3 separate regions of the Homo sapiens genome follow, and regions 1 and 3 are each linked to region 2. The links are contacts of gene promoters, found by promoter capture Hi-C in human tissues and cell types (Jung and others, 2019). All regions are on one chromosome and are shown on one strand. The core of a region is centred on a gene start or on the middle of the fragment in contact, and the rest is flanking DNA. Distances in the headings are between cores, read along the strand shown.

The links. Contacts are between HindIII fragments. The study calls those that stand out against the background at their distance.
Region 1: the fragment with the promoter of TOMM22 here is called in contact with the fragment with the promoter of MAFF in region 2 in 1 of the 25 tissues and cell types used here (lymphoblastoid cells).
Region 3: a contact is called between a fragment that was not itself captured here and the fragment with the promoter of MAFF in region 2, in 3 of the 25 tissues and cell types used here (dorsolateral prefrontal cortex, hippocampus and lymphoblastoid cells).

The regions. Positions count from the first base shown.
Region 1 is chr22:38,679,589-38,683,298 of GRCh38, forward strand. TOMM22 (translocase of outer mitochondrial membrane 22) reads left to right here and starts at 2,369. Exons shown (of 4, transcript NM_020243.5): 1 at 2,369-2,507; 2 at 2,735-2,853; 3 at 3,291-3,408. The coding sequence starts at 2,391. It overlaps TOMM22-DT (TOMM22 divergent transcript), which reads right to left and starts at 2,268. Exons shown (of 2, transcript XR_007068097.1): 1 at 2,138-2,268. RefSeq lists enhancers at 2,157-3,356, 2,403-2,472 and silencers at 2,203-2,272, 2,663-2,712. The HindIII fragment of the contact is 12,362 bases long and covers 1-3,710 here.
Region 2 is chr22:38,199,488-38,203,255 of GRCh38, forward strand. It overlaps MAFF (MAF bZIP transcription factor F), which reads left to right and starts at 2,507. Exons shown (of 3, transcript NM_012323.4): 1 at 2,507-2,725. RefSeq lists silencers at 2,334-2,663, 2,724-3,163. The HindIII fragment of the contact is 8,533 bases long and covers 1-3,768 here.
Region 3 is chr22:38,556,829-38,560,804 of GRCh38, forward strand. All of the region lies in intron 5 of DMC1 (DNA meiotic recombinase 1), which reads right to left. Among named protein-coding and RNA genes, the nearest start is that of DMC1, 11 kb to the right of the region's middle. The HindIII fragment of the contact is 5,518 bases long and covers 1-3,976 here.

The DNA of each region.
Region 1 (3,710 bases), core at 1,119-3,618, 480 kb after region 2:
GGAGGCAGAGGTTGCAGTGAGCCGAGATTGCGCCACTGCACTCCAGCCTCCATCACAAAAAACAAACAAACAAACACAAAAAAGTGTCTGATAGAGATGCCCTGTCCAAAGATGAAAGGGAGGCCTGGGGACTGTATCGGAAGGAGTGTGAGACACAGGACAAATGCTCATTACTGCATCCTCATGCATCACAGAAGGATTTGGACTCTCCCATCCTGGGAGTCTCTGATTCCAGGTTCAGTTGGCTAAAGGTGTTTATCAAATTACCCTGTTTAATAACATGGGGCACATTTTAAAAAGAAGCACTTACATCCATCATATAGGCAAAAAGTAAAAAGATGGATAACACCTAATGCTGGGGAGGGTGTGGGACAAGGACATTTCCATTTACTGTACTATTATGAAAGCATCTGATAGAGGCTGGGAGCAGTGGCTCATACCTGTAATCCCAGCACTTTGGGAAGCCAAGGCGGGTGGATCACCTGAGGTCACGAGTTTTAGACCAGCCTGGCCGACATGGTGAAATCCCATCTCTACTAAAAATACAAAAAGTTAGCCAGGCATGGTGGCACACACCTGTAGTCCCAGCTACTTGGGAGGCTGAGGCGGGAGAATCGCTTGAGCCCAGGAGGTTGCAGTGAGCTGAGATCATGCCACTGCACTCCAGCCTGGGCGACAGAGCAAGACTCCATCTCAAAAACAAACACACAAACTCAAACAAAAATTTATATCTGCATACTTTCTGACCAGCTCACCTACTTACTAGAAATCTATGTACTATGCCTCAGTTTCCTCATTTCTAAAATGGGGATAACAGTGCCTACCCCAGTGAGCTGCTGTGAAGATTAAAGGAGGACACACCGCACCCACCCACACCCACAGGCACCAGAGCACCTGGTATTTAGGTGTTAACTCTTACCTTTGTTTGGTACATAGGGAAGATTTACCTGATGTTTTCCCAAAAGACCTGCAAGACACTAATTTATTCCTACCAAGTAAAACATGGCTCAGGAAAACGAAACTGGATCAGTGTCTCTCTAAAACAGCCCAAGAAGCAGGCCAAGGAGATGGACAAGGAAGATAAATCTTTGGCCCTGGTCACAGGCCGAATTAAGAAATCCGGCAAGGTGGGGCGCAGTGGCATAGGCCTGTAATCCTAGGACTTGGGGAGGCTGAGGCAGTCGGATTGCTTGAGTCTCGGAGTTCAAGACCAGCCTAGGCAACACAGTGAAACCCTGTCTTTATATATATATGTATGTGTGTGTGTGTGTGTGTGTGTATATGTGTGTATGTATATATACATAATACGTATATATGTATACGTATGTATATATATACATATATACACATACCTATATACACATATATACATATATACACATATATACATATATATACATATATACGTATATATATACACACACATAAAATATATATTATATATAATATATAACTATATATAGGCCAGGTGCGGTGGCTGATGCCTGTAATGCCAGCACTTTGGGAGGCCGAGGCGGGCAGATCACTTGAGGTCAGGAGTTCAAAACCAGCCTAGCCAAATGGTGAAACCCCGTCTCTACTAAAAATACAAAAAATTAGCGGGGCGTGGTTGGTGGTGCATGCTGAGGCAGGAGAATCGCTTGAACCTGGGAGGCGGAGCTTGCAGTGAGCCGGGATCACACCACTGCACTCCATCCAGTCTGGGCGACAGAGCGAGACTCCGTCTCAAAACAAAACCAACAACAACAACAACAACAAAAAGCTAAAATCTTACAAAAAGCGACCTGTTCCACTGTCCCTTGGGCCTGCGGTGATGGTGGGCCTGACTCCATTCGTCTTTAAACATCTCTATTCCCGGCCACATCTTTGGCCACCTATGCTCGAATAAAGTGTTGTCTTGGAGCCTGTTGTAAATTTAAGAATAAACTTTTGTTAAAAAAAAAAATACAGTGGCTCATCATCTCTTGAGTTGTTTTCACTCAGCCACTCCTACCTTAGCTGTGAACTTAAAGTAAAACAAGCCCCCAGAATCTTGCCAGAGTCAGCCCTTTGATCTTTGTTCTCCCCTGAACTCTATTACCTGGAATTAAAACAACGCATTTGAAAAAAAGAAAAACAAGCAAGTTTCTGAGCTCACCCTATACCCGCTGAACAGAATGACTGCGGTGGCGCCCCAGAACCTCTCACAGGCCTCTCAGCTGCTGCTAATGCCCGCCGAAGCCCCGACGCCCGGATAAGGCCAGGGCTGCCGGACCCGCTGCGGGCACTGGAGGACCCGGGGCTAGAGGGCGCCGCTCTCGCCCGGCTCGCGCCTCGGCTCCCGGAAAAGCAGCTCTGTCCGCCGTTCGGCTGCGCTCACCTCCTTTCCGCTTCCGGTGTCCCCTACAGTCATGGCTGCCGCCGTCGCTGCTGCCGGTGCAGGGGAACCCCAGTCCCCGGACGAATTGCTCCCGAAAGGCGACGCGGAGAAGCCTGAGGAGGAGCTGGAGGAGGACGACGATGAGGAGGTACTAGGGCCTCGCGGGGTGCAGAGCGGGAAGCGGGCCCGCTCGTGGGTGTGGGATCCGCGTGGTACGGGATCGGAGCGAAGCGGCTGCTTTGGGAGGCGGGGTTAGGGGCCCTGCTGGGCCCTGGGTGCCCTAGCTCCAGTGGGGCTCGGCGGCTCCCAGTGCCGCAGCGGGGCCAGGAATGGATGTCGCTTTTTCGGCTAAGACCCGCGTCTACTCCACCACAGCTAGATGAGACCCTGTCGGAGAGACTATGGGGCCTGACGGAGATGTTTCCGGAGAGGGTCCGGTCCGCGGCCGGAGCCACTTTTGATCTTTCCCTCTTTGTGGCTCAGAAAATGTACAGGTAAGGAACGAGGGCAAAGGCACTGGGTACGTGCATGGGATGGTCGTGGTGCTGTGAAAGAACACGGGGTTTGGAAGCAGCAGACCCGTGTTGGGTGACCTTGGGCTTGTACCCTATCCTTTCTTAGTTTCCTCTTCTGTAAAATGGGGATTCTTACCTGGCAGGGGAGTTGTGGGGGTTATTTCAGATTGTTGGAGATAATTAATGAATAAGGAGCTTTGTAAGAACTCAGGAGAATGTTAAACCGCCATCACTAGATGATACAGCTACCATAGCTGCTCCTCCTGTCTCTGGTAGGAGTATGGTGTAAGGAGCGGGTAGAATACGTTTATCAAAAACATTGGAGTATGTAATGTGAGAGGTTTGGTTACTGGGTAGTTCTTGCCTGTTTTGTTTGCATGTCTTCATGCTCACCCTCTGGGGATTTTCCTCTGCAGGTTTTCCAGGGCAGCCTTGTGGATTGGGACCACTTCCTTTATGATCCTGGTTCTTCCCGTTGTCTTTGAGACGGAGAAGTTGCAAATGGAGCAACAGCAGCAACTGCAGCAGCGGCAGGTGAGCCCAGACCTTGGGCTTTTTGCCAGTGGTGGAGACGCAAGTTATTTCACTAACACATTGGTCCCCAACCTTTTTGGCACCAGGGACTGGTTTCATGGAACACAGTTTTTACATGGATGGTGGGTTGGGGGTGGCCGGGGGTCGGGGGGGGGGTTCTGGATGATTCAAGTGCATTACATTTATTGTGCACTGAATTTCTATTATTACATTGTAATATATAATGAAATAATTCTATAACGTAGAATGAGTGGGAGCCCTGAGCTTGTTTTCCTGCAACTAGACAGTCCTGTCTGGGGGTG
Region 2 (3,768 bases), core at 1,257-3,756:
TTTGCTACATCAAGGAAAGTGGGGGGCTGGGCGCGGTGGCTCACGCGTGTAATCCCAGCACTTTGGGAGGCCGAGGCGGGTGGATCACGAGGTCAGGAGATCGACACCACGGTGAAACCCCGTCTCTACTAAAAATACAAAAAAAAAAAATTAGGAGGGCGCGGTGGCGGGCGCCTGTAGTCCCAGCTACTCGGGAGGCTGAGGCTGGAGAATGGCGTGAACCCGGGAGGTGGAGCTTGCAGTGAGCTGAGATCGCGCCACTGCACTCCAGCCTGGGGCAACACAGCGAGACTCCGGCTCAAAAAAAAAAAAAAAAAAAGGAAAGTGGGGATCCTTACTGGTGATCAGGGTGCCACATAGAGGCCTACCCATTTGGAGAGGCCCTATGCCCTCCACAGTGGAGTAAGTGCCATGATGTCGGCTTCACAGGAGGGACTGTGGGAGCGATGGAATTTCAGGCAGTGGGAACATCATGAGCAAAGGAAAGCAGGGGATGAACAGCAACATCCACCCCGCACGTGGCCTCCAAAGCCATCTCTTTTGGGTGGGGCTTCCCACCACGGCGCACACCCCTCATGTTTATGTGGCCCTCCTCCCCTGGTTGCGATGTACCCCCAAACATCTGGGCCAGGAATCATTCAGACCTGGATACCAATTCCAGTGCTTGTACTTCCTAGCTGAGTGAATTTAGAAAGTCACCTTCACCTCTCTGAGCCTCCAGTCATGTATTCCTTCAACATGTATTTACTGTGGGCCTACTATGTGCCAAGCACTACTCCAGGCACTGGGCAGGCAGTGGTGAACAAGATAAGCCTGGCCAGGCGCAGTGGCTCATGTCTGCAATCCCAACACTTTGGGAGGCCGAGGTGGGTGGCCTGAGGTCAGGGGTTCAAAACCAGCCTGGCTGGGCATGGTGACTCACCTGTAGTCCAGCTACTGGGGGGCTGAATTCCTTGAACCTGGGAGGCGGAGGTTGCAGTGAGCCAAGATTATGCCACTGCACTCCAGCCTGGGCAACAGAGTGAGACTCTGTCTCAAAAAAAAAAAAAGAAAAAGAAAAAGAAGCAAGGCCTGCCTTCATAAAACATACATTCTGGTTGGGGAAGACAGACAATAACCAGCACTCACATACATAAATGATGAAACACCCTACAGAAGTATTAAGATAATATAAGAACAAATTTCAAGGCTGGGTGCGGTGGCTTGCGCCTGTAATCCCATTACTTTGGGAGGCCAGCGTGGGTGGATTGCCTGAGTCCAGGAGTTTGAGACCAGTTTGGGCAACATGGCAAAACCCTGTCTCTACAAAAAAAAAAAAAAAAAAAAAAAAAAAAAAATACAAAAAATGAACCTAGCATGGTGGTGTGTGCTTATGGTCCCAGCTACTTGGGAGGCTAAGGTGGGAGAATGGCTGGAGTCCAGGAGAAGGAGGTTGCAGTGAGCCGAGATTGTGCCACTGCACTCCAGCCTGGGTGACAGAGTGAGACCCTGTCTCGAAAAAAAAAAAAAAATTCAGAGGTGAAGACTGCTTTAACCAGGGTGGTCAGGAAATGTCTCTCTGAGGCAGTGACATCCGGGCTGACGTGAAAGATGAGAAAGAGTCAGGCAAGTGAACAGAAGACCAGACAGCCAGTGCCAAGGGCCTGTCGCAGGAATGAGCTTGGTATGTTTGGGGGACAGAAAGAAGGGCACTGTGGCCGAAGAGCAGTGGATGAGGAGAGAGTGGCCAAAGAAGGTGTGTAAACAACCTGAGCTTTGTTTTGAGAAGAACATTGGCTGGTATAGAAAGAAAGACTTTGGAGGCAAAGTAGGGAGCCTCGGAGGCTGCTGCCATTGTCCGGGTAAGCTGATGGTGCCGAGACCAGGTGCCATGACTGGAGGTGGTGAGAAATGGTCCTATGCAGGAGACCTGGAGACACCGCTAGCTTGAGTCCTGAGGTGGGGAGGAAGGGAGAGGGAGGGATGGAGCCAGGCTCCAAGGTTTTGGCTTGAGCAGCTGAGATGGGGTGGCAAGGGAGCAGAGGTAGGGCTGACGATCAGGAGCGGGTTTTTGGGCCGAGTCCTCTGCAGTGCCCATCTGACACCCACTGGATGCGCAGAGTGGGCAGCTGGCTATGAGTCTGGAACTCAGAGAAGCTGTTCGCTCCGGAAATACAAACCTGGGGCTCATAGCCATATAAATGTCATTTAAAGCCACGGGACTGGATGAGATCATTAAGGCAGAAGGTCTAGGTCGAAAGAAGAGGGCCAGGACCACTACCTGTAAAATGAGCCAATGACACCTACACCCACGGGGCTCTCGCGAGGTGTCACGTGAACGCACCCAGCGAGCCCTGGAACCAGGCAGAGAATCGCGGCAGCCCCGGGGGCGGGGCTTCCAGGGGGCGGGGTCATACGGGGGCGGGGCCGAGGGACCAAGCGGCCGCTCCTGGCCGGAGGGCGGCCGGGTCGGTGACGTCACCGCATGACTGGGTTTTTATGAATGAAAGGAATCCTGTGAGTGAGTAATTCCGGGAAGCTCGCCTTACAACTCCGCGCGGCCTCGGCCCCCTGCGCCGCCCGCCCCACAACAAAACTCAGCGCAGCGCTCCCGGGCGCCCGGTTCAGAGCGACCTGCGGCTCAGAGCGGAGGGGAGACTGACCGGAGCGCGGATCGGGACAGCGGCCGGGACAGCGGCGAGACGCGCGTGTGTGAGCGCGCCGGACCAAGCGGGCCCAGAAGCGGGTGAGGAACGCGGGACCAGGAGGACGGTGCGCGGGACCCCAAGGCGGCAGGGTTTCTGCGTCCCGGGATGCGCCTGGGGTGGGCGCCCGGGCCCGATCCGTCGGGGCTCCCGGAGCTCCATCGCCCGGACGGCTCGGGGCGGGGAGAAGGGAGCGGCCGTCCCGGGGACGCCGAGGACGGGGCCGAGGCCAGCTCGGGGGAGTGGGGGTGGAGACGGGGCCCCTTCCCGGGGCGCGGGCGGGTAGGCGGCGGCGCCGGGAGGAAGGGGCAGCGCAGGCCGGCGATCTCCGCGTCCGCCCGGCGGGGGCGGGGGCGCTGTGCTCCTACGTGACTCGGTGGGAACAGGCCCTGGCCCGGCGCCCGCGGGCGGTGCGTGCGCGGTTTGTTTACGTCCGAGGGCGGGCGTGTGTTCCCTGGCGGGCGGCCTGGGTATCCTGCCCGGTGCGTGCGTGCGCTGTGTACCTCGGGGGCGTGTGTGCGTGTGTTGTGCTTGTGTGTGCGTGTCCGCGCGCGCGCTCCCTGGGGCCTGTACACCAGCAGTGTGTACCTCGGAGAGGGCGTGCCCTGGGCCGGCCACCGGAGTAAACGCGGAACAAGGACCCGAGCGAAGGAAGCGGACCCGTGCGTCTTCGCACGGGGTCTGGGAATTCTGGCCCGGGCCGCCCCAGTCCTACTACCCGGGGCTGTCCGTCCCCGGCTCTCCCCGGAGTTTCCCAGGGCCTCCGCCACGTGACCCCAGTGTTTGTCTCCCGCCCAGAGCCCGCGCCCGCAGCCACAGGGTGGGGCAAGGTATCAAAGACCCCACCCAGCTGAGCTAGGAGTGAGGGATGTGAGCCACCCCCGCTTGGCACCCCGGTGGATCTGGTAACAAAGTGAGTTGGAGCCCAGGTTCTTGTCCCCAGATTTTGGGGCTTCCTGGGGAGGGAAGAACCAAGGGACTCTCGTTCGTCCCCAGGGTTGCCCATCCCCTCAGTCCCATGAGAACAGGAAGGGCCAGAAAACCTTGACTGCAAGGGTGCGGCGCAGGGAGAGGACCACAGGCT
Region 3 (3,976 bases), core at 931-3,430, 360 kb after region 2:
TAAGAGAGCAATTTAAATGTAAATTGAAACAATGTTGGAAGTTATCCACAAATTTAGTGAGGGCTGCAGACTTCAATAAGGAAAAGAAAAATCTAGATAGTGTACCTGCACAACTTAAATCTAAAGGACATGGGCTAAGCGATCAACCCATTTGGAGGGAATACACTTGGAAATCTTATAGGCCCAGCAACTATTTTTTTCTTCAACTTTTATTTTAAATTCAGGGGTACATGTGCCAGATATGCAGGTTTGTTACATAGGTAAACGTGTGCCATGGTGGTTGGGCTAGCAACTATTAAAGAAAGCTTTATTTGTCCCTCTTCTTCCTGAGAAAAATTACCCTGGAAAGCTATACCTCTGGAAAATCCCAGACAAAATTCCTGGTTGATATGTAATCTCAATCAGCTGAAAAGGTAACCCCAAAATTTACCTGTGAGGATACCCCAAATTATTTGGGATAGCACAATTGTTTCCTTTTTGAGACTCAGGAAAATTTAGAATTAAGTGTAGAAATAGTGTTTTTAAATATAGGGAGATTTAAAAATAGAGACACAAATCAAACCCATAGATTACTATTTTCATATTAAATTTGGCAATATGGGCATGGTGGCTCATGTCTGTAATCTTAGCACTTTGGGAGGCCGAGGGAGGTGGATCGCTCGAGCCTGGGAGTTCAAGACCAGCCTGGATAACATGGCGAAACCCAGTCTCTACAGAAAATACCAAAATTAGCCAGGTATGCTGGCCTGTGCCTGCAGTCCCATCTACTCAGGCTGCAGTGAGCCGTGATGGAGCCACTGCATTTTAGCCTGGGTGACAGAGTGAGACCGTGTCTCAAAAAATAAAATAGAATATAAATAAATAAATTTGGTAATAACCTGTGCATATTTGCTATTTGAGACCTTTTAACGTTTAAGATAATTTGACCTTTTTGTAATGGATTGGCCTCTGACTGATTAAATGGTACATTCCTTCAATTTTCAAGTTGATAACTAATTTTATAAATAGTATTTGAACATTTAATGGTGCCTACAACTCACTATACTTCTAAATTTATTTGAGTTACAAAAGATATTTAGGTAATTGGGAAGATTTTGCTGTTAATAATTAGATAATTAGACAAAGTTCTTTTTTTTTTTTTTTTTTTTTTTTGAGACGGAGTCTCACTCTGTCGCCCAGGCTGGAATGCAGTGGCGTGATCTTGGCTCACTGCAACCTCTGCCTCCTGGATTCAAGCAATTCTCTGCATCAGCCTCCTGAGTAGCTGGGATTACAGGCACCCGCCACCATGCCCGGCTAATTTTTGTATTTTTAGTAGAGACAGGGTGATCCTGTCTTTAGTAGAGACCTTGTGATCCACCCGCCTCAGCCTCCCAAAGTGTTGGGATTACAGGTGTGAGCCAGTGCACCTGGCCAACAAATAAAGTTCTTAAAGAAAATACAATACACTAAATGTATAAACATAATTAAAATGTTTAAGAGAATTTAATCTTGTTATAAAAGCACCCTTAAAATGTGCTAGATTTATAAAGGGACTTAAAGCTTAAGGAAAAATGTATAATATTTTAATTAATTAAATATTAATTTTTAAAAACCTAGCTCCTGGCTGGGCGCAGTGGCTCACATCTGTAATCCCAGTACTTTGGGAGGCCGAGGCAAGTGGATCATCTGAGGTCAGGAGTTCGAGGCCAGCCTGGCCAACATGGTGAAACTCTGTCTCTACTAAAAATACAAAAATTAGCCCGGTGTGGTGGCACACACCTGTAGTCCCAGCTACTCAGGAGGCTGAGGCAGGAGAATTGCTTGAACCCAGGAGGCGGAGGTTGCAGTGAGCCGAGATCATGCCACTGCACTCCAGCCTGGGCGACACAGCAAGACTCTGTCTCAAAAGCAAACAAACAACAAAAAAAAACCTAGCTCCTGAATGATCTTTTCTGTTCTCAAGAGCAAACATCAAGGGCACCAGAAAACTCACAATAACAGTAATTATTTCTTTAGCCCAGTGGTTCTTAGACCACCATGTGGTAGAGTAACTAAAGAAAATCAGATTGTCATTTGAATCAAGTGTTTTGTTGATCAACCTCATTTTGACCAATTTGCCTAGGGGTAGGATTTCTCCAAGCCTCTTCCTTAACTTTACTTGAAAAAAGGGTATGTGATTTTAAAAGTCTGGGACAATGCTGGGTTAAACAGGTATTTTCTTTTTCTTTTTTTCTTTTGAGACTGAGTCTCACTCTATTGCCCAGGCTGGAGTGCAGTGGCACGATCTCGGCTCACCACAACCTCCATCTCCCAGGTTCAAGCGATTCTCCTGCCTCAGCCTCCCGAGTAGCTGTGACCACAGGCACATGCCACCATGCCCGGCTAATTTTTTGTATTTTTAGTAGAGACGGGGTTTCTCCATGTTGGTTAGGCTGGTCTCGAACTCCTGATCTCAAGTGATCCACCCGCCTCGGCCTCCCAAAACGCTGGGATTAAAGGTGTGAGCCACCGTGCCCAGCCATTTTTTTGGTAATTTTTAGTAGAGACAGGGTTTCACCATGTTGGCCAGGCTGGTCTAGAACTCCTGACCTAAGGTGATCCACCCATCTTGGCCTCCCGAAGTGCTGTGATTACAGGTGTGGGCCACCGTGCCCTGCCAAAACAGGTGTTTTGTGTCACTGCAGGATTTCACAGGCTAGTGTGCGCTGTGACTCTTCAAGAAGAATATATAGTATATGGTACTTCTCAAACTTATTCACTATTTGTTTATTCATTCATTTAGTCATTCAACAAATATTTATTGCACACCTAGTTTATGCCAGGGATTGTTTTGTGCACTTGGGATAAACTAGAGAACAAAAGAGACAGAATTTTTTTCTCTCACGAAGTTTACAATCTAGTGAGAGATTAGATAATAAACACAAATAGGCCAGGCGCCGGTAGCTCACACCTGTAATCCCAGCACTTTGGGAGGCTGAAGCGGTGGATCATGGGATCAGGAGTTCAAGACCAGCCTGGCCAAGATGCTGAAACCCTGTCTCTACTAAAAGTACAAAAATTAGCCGGGCGTGGTGGCGGGCACCTGTAATCCCAGCTACTCGGGAGGCTGAGGCAGGTGAATCGCTTGAACCTGGGCAGCAGAGGTTGCAGTGAGCTGAGATCATGCCACTGCACTCCAGCCTGGGTGACAGAGCAAGACTCCGTCTGAAAAAAAAAATAAATAAATAAAATAAAAAATAAACACAAATAAGTAAAATATGTAGTACATCAGATGTTATTAAATGGTATGGATAAAAATAAGGCCAGGAAAGGGGACAAGGAAGACAGAGTATGAAAGTTAGGAGGTTATACTGTCAAATAAAGTGATCAGAGAAGTTCTCATTGAGACATGGACATTTTTGCCAAGACCTGAAAGAGATGACAGCAAGCCATGTAGATCTAAGAGGAAAGAATATGATAGGCAGAGGCAGCACAAAGTGCAAAGGCCCTGATGCAGGAGTGTATCTGACATATTCTGGGAATAGCAAAGAGGTCACTATGGCTGGTACATAGAAAACTAGAAAAGTGAAATATTAGAGATGGGAGAGGACTTTGGCTTCTTTTCTGAGTGAGAGGGGGAATCATCAGGGTGTTATGAGCCACTGCATTCCAGCCTAACCTATGTTTTAAAGTGACCATTCTGGCTCTTTAGTGAATTAAAAAAAAAAACAAAACAGTAGGGGCAAGGTCTCAAGGAGGGAGGTTAATTAGAGGTTATTATAATAATCCAGGGGAGATATTAATAGGTGGTAGTTTAGTCCAGTGAGGTAACAGTAGAGGTGGTAAGAAATAGTTGAATTATATTCTCACTCTCTATGTACACACACACATATACACATAAAAATAACATATATTATATATTAATCTTTTATTATAGAAAATATCAAGCATAAACAAATGTAGAAAAAAAATAATGAACCATCGTGTCTATCACTCAGCTTCAACAATCGTCAAC